2 separate regions of the Homo sapiens genome follow, and region 2 is linked to region 1. The links are contacts of gene promoters, found by promoter capture Hi-C in blood cells and fetal thymus (Javierre and others, 2016). All regions are on one chromosome and are shown on one strand. The core of a region is centred on a gene start or on the middle of the fragment in contact, and the rest is flanking DNA. Distances in the headings are between cores, read along the strand shown. Region 1 holds the start of MAK16 (MAK16 homolog). Region 2 holds the start of LYPLA1-TCEA1 (LYPLA1-TCEA1 readthrough).

Region 1 (4,079 bases), core at 1,266-3,765:
GAACTGGAGATTACTTTTTGTTTGTTTGTTTTTTTAATGAGACAGAGTCTCGCTCTGTCACCCACGCTGGAGTGCAGTGGCGGGATCTCGGCTCACCGCAAGCTCTGCCTCACTAAATACTACATAATATCATGATAAATGCTTTTAAACTTTATATCAAATTTCTCATGTGTTTCAGTTGCAGTCAAATCCAGGGTATCCCTAGGGTGACCCCAGTGAGTCCCACTCCCTGGTGTTCATGTCTTGTATCTTCTCCTCCCCTCCAGTGAGGGTGGCACCTGTGACTTGATCTAACCAATGGCATAAGGCAAAGTCTATGGAAAGTCACTGCCATAATTTTTTAAGATTATTTAAGATTATTTAAGATTAACATTATTTAAGATTCTGTTTTAGCAGACTGGAATTTAACTCGTTGCTGGCTTGATGAAGTAAGGAGCTATGTTGAGAAATCCCATGTGGCAAGAAGCCACAGGCAGCCTCTAGGACCTGTGGGTGGCCTCCCGGACACACGCCATCCTTACTGAGACTGTGTCCTTCTTACACTTTTGTTATTAAAATGGTCTTGTTACTGGAAAGTGGTCCCCAATCAGACCCAAGAGAGGGTTCTTGGATCTTAAGCAAGAAAGAATTTGAGGTGAGTCCATAAGTTTCGTAAAGTGAAAGCAAGCTTATTAAGAAAGTAAAGGAATGAAAGAATGGCTACTGCATAGGCAGAGCGGCACCGAGGGCTGCTGGTTGCCCATTTTTATCGCTATTTGTTCATGTATTTTTTGAGACTGATTCTTGCTCTGTTGCCCAGGCTGAAGTGCAGCGGCTTGATCTCAGCTCACTGTAATCTCTGCCTCCCAGATTCAAGTGATTCTCCTGCCTCAGCCTCCCAAGTAGCGGGGACTACAGGTGCCCACCACCACGCCTGGTTAAGTTTTGTATTTTTAGTAGAGATGGGGTTTCACCACGTTGGCCCGTCTGGTCTTGAACTTCTGACCTCGGGTGATCCACCTGCCTCGGCCTCCCAAAATGCTGATTACAGGCGTGAGCCACCAAGCCCAGCCTATTTATTGATTATATGCTAAACACGGAGCGGATTACTTACGCCTCTCCTTTTTAGACCATATAGAGTAATTTCCTGATGTTGCCATGGCATTTGTGGCGCCAGTGGGAGTGTAGCAGTGAGGACGACCAGAGGTCAAACTCATTGCCATCTTGGTTTTGTGGGTCTTGACTGGCTTCTTTACTGCAATCTGTTTTATCAGCAACATCCTTATGACCTGTATTTTGTGCTGACCTCATCCTGTGATTTAGATGGCCTGACCCTCGGGAATGCAGCCTAGCAGATCTCAGCCTTATTTTACCCAGCCACTATTCAAGATGGGGTTGCTCTGGTTCAAATGCCTCTTGACAGTCTTTCTTTCCTTTTCTTTTTTCTTTTTCTTTTTTTTTTTTTGAGAGGTAGTTTTGGTTGTCACCCAGGCTGGAGGGCCACAGCATGATCTCGGCTCACTGCAACCTCCGCCTCCCGGGTTCAAGCGATTCTCCTGCCTCAGCCTCCCAAGTAGCTGGGATTACAGGCACCTGCTACCACGCCCGACTAATTTTTGTATTTTTAGTAGAGACGGGATTTCACTATGTTGGCCAGGCTGGTCTGGAACTCGCCCGCCTAGGCCGCCCAAAGTGCTGAGGTACAGGCGAGAGCCACCGCGCCCGGCCCGGCCGACAGTCTTTCTTCTATAATACGATACAAACTAGTAAAGATTTTCTTTTTCCCCTGGCGGAAAAGAGCTGTTAGGCTTCCAGATTTGTTTTTGTGGGTTATTAGACCTCTACTTTTCTTCTTGGTATTTTCCCTCCCTTATCAACTTTGTTTGTTGTCTCAAATAGGCAATGAGGAAGACACAGGTGTTTATTATTATTGGAATGCTCTTTCCATTTGGTCAGTGGTTTCTCAAAGCAGGAGGAATTCAAGTTCTGAGTTTCTAAAGTCAGGACCCGGTGCCGCACCCAACGTGGGCGTGGGGAGTGGCTAAGTCAGGGTCTGAGGGGCAGGGCCGGGGCCTGGCTGCGAGCTGGGGCCGGGGGACTCGGAGGAGCGGGGACCCAGCCCCGCCGCGCCGCCTGCAGCTTTCCCCAGCCTCCTCCCAGCAGAGGGGAGGCCCGACAGGGAGGGGTCCCATCCTCATGAACGGTCACAAACAGGGCGCTAGGGAAGCACGCCCGACCCCCGCGGTCCCCGCGCTCCAGGATTCGGCAGACTGCGCGCGTCCTGCCTCCCGCGGATCGCACTGGGTCCCAACAGGGTTCCCAGCTCCAGGCTGCGCCCATGAACAAGCCCAGCATTGCGGACGGGCGCGCGCAGACGCCAGCGTGGTGAAGACGCGGGGGCGCGCGCGCGGCGACGAGACTGCCAGGGGACGCTTCGCAACACCGAGAGTCTCAGCGTTTCTCGAGATAGGTGAGGCTGCGCGTTCCGGAACTGGTTTCCCGGAAGGAGCATGTCTGCGCCCGCGATCCGACCGGAAGTTGCACGCTGAGCCGCGGACACCATGCAGTCGGATGATGTGAGTCTCCTCCGGTTGTTCTTACACCCGGGGTTTGCGCAGGGAATTTTGCCCATTTTCGGACACTTAGAAAACGCGTACGCAGCGGGTCTGTTGCCTCGTGCCGCTCTGGATGTGAGGCTTCCGGAACCCCGATTTTCCAACATAGGTTCTCACGCGTGTCTAGCAGGGGTTTACTGCCCGCTGCCCCGGCCGGGTTGTGAGCACAGGACTCCGTCACCTCAGCCCATGGGGTCGATGTGTCCCGTCCTTCGTGCCTACCAATGCAGGACGTCGCGTCATGCTGTCAGCTGTCAGCTGTCAGCTCCGGACTTGGGGTGGGGGGCGGCCCGGGATTTGGCGAAGCTGACTCCAAGTTTAAGCGTCCTTCTCATCCATGTGCGCGTTACTCTTCCATCTGCGTTTCCTGTGTAGGCTTTTCTTTACATTTGCTCTACTTCTGCCTAAGTCATAATTTCGGAAGTATCCTAGATTCATTCATTGAGTTTTTTGTTGGAGAAATAACAGTGTGCTTACAGTGTGCCAGGCATTGTGGTAATTATTGAGGATTTGGTTAACCAGAAAAAATGTCCCACCTCTCCTGGAACACTGATGGGGGAGACACAGTAAACAAGTGAACAAATAAGTTAACAATTACACTATATAATCATACTATGAAAGAAAGACCAGAGATGATGAAGGACACTTCAGATAGGGTTACTCAGGGAAGGTTTCTCTGAACAGAAGATGTTTGAGTTGAGATCTAAAAGATAAGAATAAGCCAGTCACTGAGGAGCTGAGGAAAAAGCAATCCAGGCAGTAGGAACAGTAAAGTACAAAGAGTTGAAGATATGAGAGAATGAATATAAGGGTCATCAAAGTGACAATGTAAGACAGGTAATGAAATTAGATATGCTTGCCAGGGCGAGGTCATGCAGAATCTTGTAGGAAGTGTTTTTTAGGCCTTTTAATGATCTATGTTTGTGAAAAGTTGTCTAGTTGCTGTGTGAAGGACTTTTGGAGGGAAAAAATGAAAGCAAGGAGACTAGGGTATGACAAAGGTTGCTTCAAGCCAGACACAGTGGCTCATGCCTGTAATCCCAACGCTTTGGGAGGCTGGGGCTGGAGGATCGCTTGAGGCCAGGAGTTCGATTCCAGCCTAGGCAATAAAGTGAGACTCCATCTCTACAAAAAATAAAAAATTAGCTGGGCGCGGTGGTGTTCGCCTGAGGTCCCAGTTACTTCGAAGGCTGAGGCAGAAGGACTACTTGAGCCGAAAAGTCCGAGGCTGCAGTGAGCTATGATGGCACCACTGCACTCCAGCCTGGGTGACAGAGAGACCCTATCTCTAAAGTAAATAAATTTTTTTAAAAACGAAAGTGGCTTCGCCTAAGGTAGTAATTTAATGGTGGAGATGAAAAGAAATTGATGAATTTGAGACCTTTTACGTCAGTATAATTGACAAGACTTTGGTGATGGATTAAGTGAAGAAGAAAAGGAAGAAATCAAAGGATTTGGGATATAAATACATAGTTAAATGGTGAT
Region 2 (3,664 bases), core at 1,019-3,518, about 21 Mb after region 1:
GTGGATCACTAGAGGTCAGGAGTTCAAGACCACCCTGGCCAACATGGCAAAACCCCATCTCTACTAAAAATACAAAAAAATTAGCTGGACGTGGTAGCACGCGCCTGTAATCTCAGCTACGCCGGAGGCCGAGGCACAAGAATCACTTGAACCCGAGTGGCAGAGGTTGAAGGGAGCCGAGATCGTGCCACTGCACTCCAGCCTGGGTGACAGAGTGAGACTCCATCTCAAAAAATAATAATAAAATAAATAAAAAAGAATGGTGTACAATTTTAAACTTATAAAGTATTTCTGGAATTTTTCATTTAGTATTTTCAAACCACAGTTAACCACGGGTAACTGAAACCATGGGAAGCAAAACTGCAGGTAAGGGGAGACTACAATATCTTAAGTATTAAATTGCCACTTGTCAGGCTGACAGGTTCGAAGTTTCATCATGCACTCATGGAACCAATCTAGAGTCAGCCTTTCCTTAGCATTATCCCACCAAATAATTTCAGAACTGGAGACCTTTGTTTTTTCTTTTATCACAACAGGTTAAAAAGAAGGATACTTTTTTAATATAAACTTAACTTTTGGTCAAGATGTAATGGATGTTCTTGGTATTTTTGATCCTAATAGTCTTCACCATTTTTACTTTTAGCTTCAGTCTGTGGAATCTGCCTAGACTGAAGTTTTTTTTTTTTTGCTTGAACTAATCATTCAGGCATAGAAGTGCTCATTATTGGCAAAGTTAGAGGATAGCAACCTTCTCCCTGACTTGCAACATCAAGAAAGGTTTGGCCATAAAATAGAGATTCTGCTATTCGAGTTTCATTTGGTAAAATAAGTTCATCATTTTCACAGGACCACTGGATTGCCAGAAAGAGTGCTGCAACCTTTTCTGTAACTCCATACAAAGTTTGTATTACATAACTCGACTTATTAGGCAAAAAATAGGAATCACTTTTAAGTGGTGGCTCACGCCTGTAATCCCAGCACTTTGGGAGGCTCAGGTGGGTGGATCATTTGAGGTCAGGAGTTCGAGACCAGCGTAACCAACATGGCAAAACTCTGTCTCTACTAAAAATACAAAAATTAGCTGGCATGGTGGCAAGCAACTGTAGTCCCAGCTACTCGGGAGACCCAGGAACCCAGAAGGTGGAGGTTGCAGTGAGTCAAGATCACGCCACTGCCCTCCAGCCAGGGCAACACAGCAGACCCTGTCTCCAAACAAACAAACAAAAATCTAGCCTAATGGCATTTTTTTTTTTTTTGAGTCTCACTCTGTGGCCCAGGCTGGAGTGCAGTCGTGCAATCTTGGCTCACTGAAGCCTCTGCCTCCCAGGTTCAAGTGATTCTCTTCTCTCAGCCTCCCTAGCAGCTGGGATTACAGGCATGCACCACCACACCCGGGTAATTTTTATATTTTTAGTAGAGATGGGGTTTCACCATATTGGCCAAGCTGGTGTCGAACTCTTGACATCAAGTGAACTACCCACCTCGGCCTCCCAAAGTGCTGGGATTACAGGTGTGAGCCACCGCGCCCGGCCCCAATGGTTCATTTTAAAGAAAATTTAGTCGTTCTGGGGCTACTTTATCAAAATTTATTTATCTTCAGTTTTCCTCTATTTCTGCAATTTTTCAACAACATTCATATTTTGCTTAAGTTTCACAGATTATCACCAATTTAAATATAAAAACAAAAACATCTCAATATAGAAAAAGCTTGAGTAAAAGATAAATCATGTATCTAAAGTTAGTACAAAAGGCCAGGCTCAGGCAGCTCCCACCTCTAATCTCTGTGCTTTGAGAGGCTGAGGCTGAAGGATCACTTGAGCCCAGGAGTTCAAAGCTGCAGTGAGCTAAGATCCTGCAACTGCACTCCAGCCTGGGCGACAGAGAGAGCCCTTGTCTCTAAAAATAATAACAAAAGAAAAAAGCAAACAAACAAAAAATAAAATAAAAATAAGTAGTTAGTACAACAAATTGTTTGATAAGCCTCCAAATAAATCTTTGAGTTGCCTCCCCTGCCTTTCAACTCATTAGAGTGAACATCTAATCCCTCTATTCAGAATGCTGCATGCCTTATGTTGCCACTAGTTCTCTTATCAAAATCAACTAGTTCTTCTCTTCAATCTGCTCTGAAATTTTAACTGCTCTGGAAAGCTCTCAATTGCACACCGTCCCTACTAACATTCCACGGATCTCTGGTATCCAATACCCAAAGCAACTAATGAGGAATTTGAAATTTTAATATGTTCCAGAAACCAGAGTTAAAAAATCAATAAACTCACGATGATAAGGGGAAAATTCTGAGGGTTTTCAAAACATAAAATCACCGCACTGTAAGATACATTAACTGGCAATCTTAAAATACCATTTTAGCGCCCTTAAACATTAAACCTTTGAACGCGTAAACAAAAGTTGCATGACCCAGTTTCATTACTGTTACTATTAATAATAATGGTACCTACCCAGTATCTCCCAATCCATGCAGGAAAATCACCTATAAGAGAAGAGGAAAATTAATAAGCAATGCCTAAATAAGCCCACACAGGATTGTTACACACTAGCTTTGCTTAAGGTGGAAAACGGAACGAAACCTACGAGAGAATTACACAACACTATCTTCGGCGACTTAATCTTTATCGACCTCTTTTAAATGGCAAAAATTCTGATCAACTTCTCCCTTTATTTCCTGAGATAATGAATGGGGGGGGGGTAGCACTGAGAGGTCCCAGTTAGACATTGAGTGCAAATGATCACATTCTAAGAAAAACAGTTTATCTCTTTCAAGTGAAATCAGGAACATCTCACATATCCTGTAGAATTTTTCCACTGCAAAAGCAAGCTTCCGGAGGCAAAAATAAGTTTGACTTTTCATACACGAGTTTTCTAAAAAACAGTACGTCTGACCTTGTAGGACACTCAATCTTCAAACTTCTTTCATTGAGGATAAGAGTGCGAGGTGACAATAAGGCGATTTCCTGGCGGACTTAGGTTTCCCTCACCCACACACCAGGCAGAAACACGCTGCAGAGGCTGACGCCGTGCCCTAGGCCGGCCCGCGGGGGTCCCGGGGCCACACTTCCTCCGCAATGCAGGGAGGAGCTGGGGACTGGCCCTCGCGCCGGCTGTGACCCCCCGGCTGCCCCCGCCCCCCGCGGACCCGGCCGCGCGGACCATTCGCACCCCACCCGGGCCGGGAGGAGCGTCCTCGTCCGCAGGCCGCCACGCGCCCGCAACGCCCACCCCGCGCGAGGGGCAACCACCGGTGGCCGGCCCAGTGGACCCCTCCGAGCCCACGCCTACGCCACTCACCGCAGCGGTGGCCTTCCGGGCGGCGGGCACGATGGCGGGCAGCGGGGTTGACATGTTATTGCCGCACATACACCGCCTCAGCTCACAGCGCAAGCGGAAGGAAGAGCGGGCGCCCGGCCGCGGCCCAAGGGCGTGCGAGCGGCGAGTCCCGGCCGGCCCCACCGGGCGCACGCTCAGGCGCGTGCGCGCCAACGCGGCCCCGCGCTACCTTCCGCGCGCGCCCGCGCGTCCAGGGTCCGCCCTGCCCTGCCCCTCGCCCGCCGCCCCTCCCTCGGCACCTCACAATGTCCGGGCGGCTCCCTCCCTCCGATTGGCTGCGGCGGCAGCGCGGACCTGGCTGCGCTTTCGCCACACCACGCAG

The links. The method cuts DNA at HindIII sites, captures the fragments that hold promoters and counts their contacts. A CHiCAGO score of 5 or more calls a contact.
Region 2: a fragment that was not itself captured here is called in contact with the fragment with the promoter of MAK16 in region 1 in 1 of 17 cell types (non-activated CD4 T cells); the score reaches 6.7 in non-activated CD4 T cells.

The regions. Positions count from the first base shown.
Region 1 is chr8:33,482,667-33,486,745 of GRCh38, forward strand. It overlaps MAK16 (MAK16 homolog), which reads left to right and starts at 2,516. Exons shown (of 10, transcript NM_032509.4): 1 at 2,516-2,555. The coding sequence starts at 2,541. RefSeq lists enhancers at 1,672-2,308, 2,296-2,445 and silencers at 1,936-2,125, 2,336-2,523. The HindIII fragment of the contact is 3,746 bases long and covers 666-4,079 here.
Region 2 is chr8:54,098,452-54,102,115 of GRCh38, forward strand. LYPLA1-TCEA1 (LYPLA1-TCEA1 readthrough) reads right to left here and starts at 3,496. Exons shown (of 21, transcript NM_001425842.1): 1 at 3,304-3,496; 2 at 2,457-2,488. It overlaps LYPLA1 (lysophospholipase 1), which reads right to left and starts at 3,496. Exons shown (of 9, transcript NM_006330.4): 1 at 3,304-3,496; 2 at 2,457-2,488. The coding sequence starts at 3,372. RefSeq lists a silencer at 3,050-3,619. The HindIII fragment of the contact is 1,126 bases long and covers 1,706-2,831 here.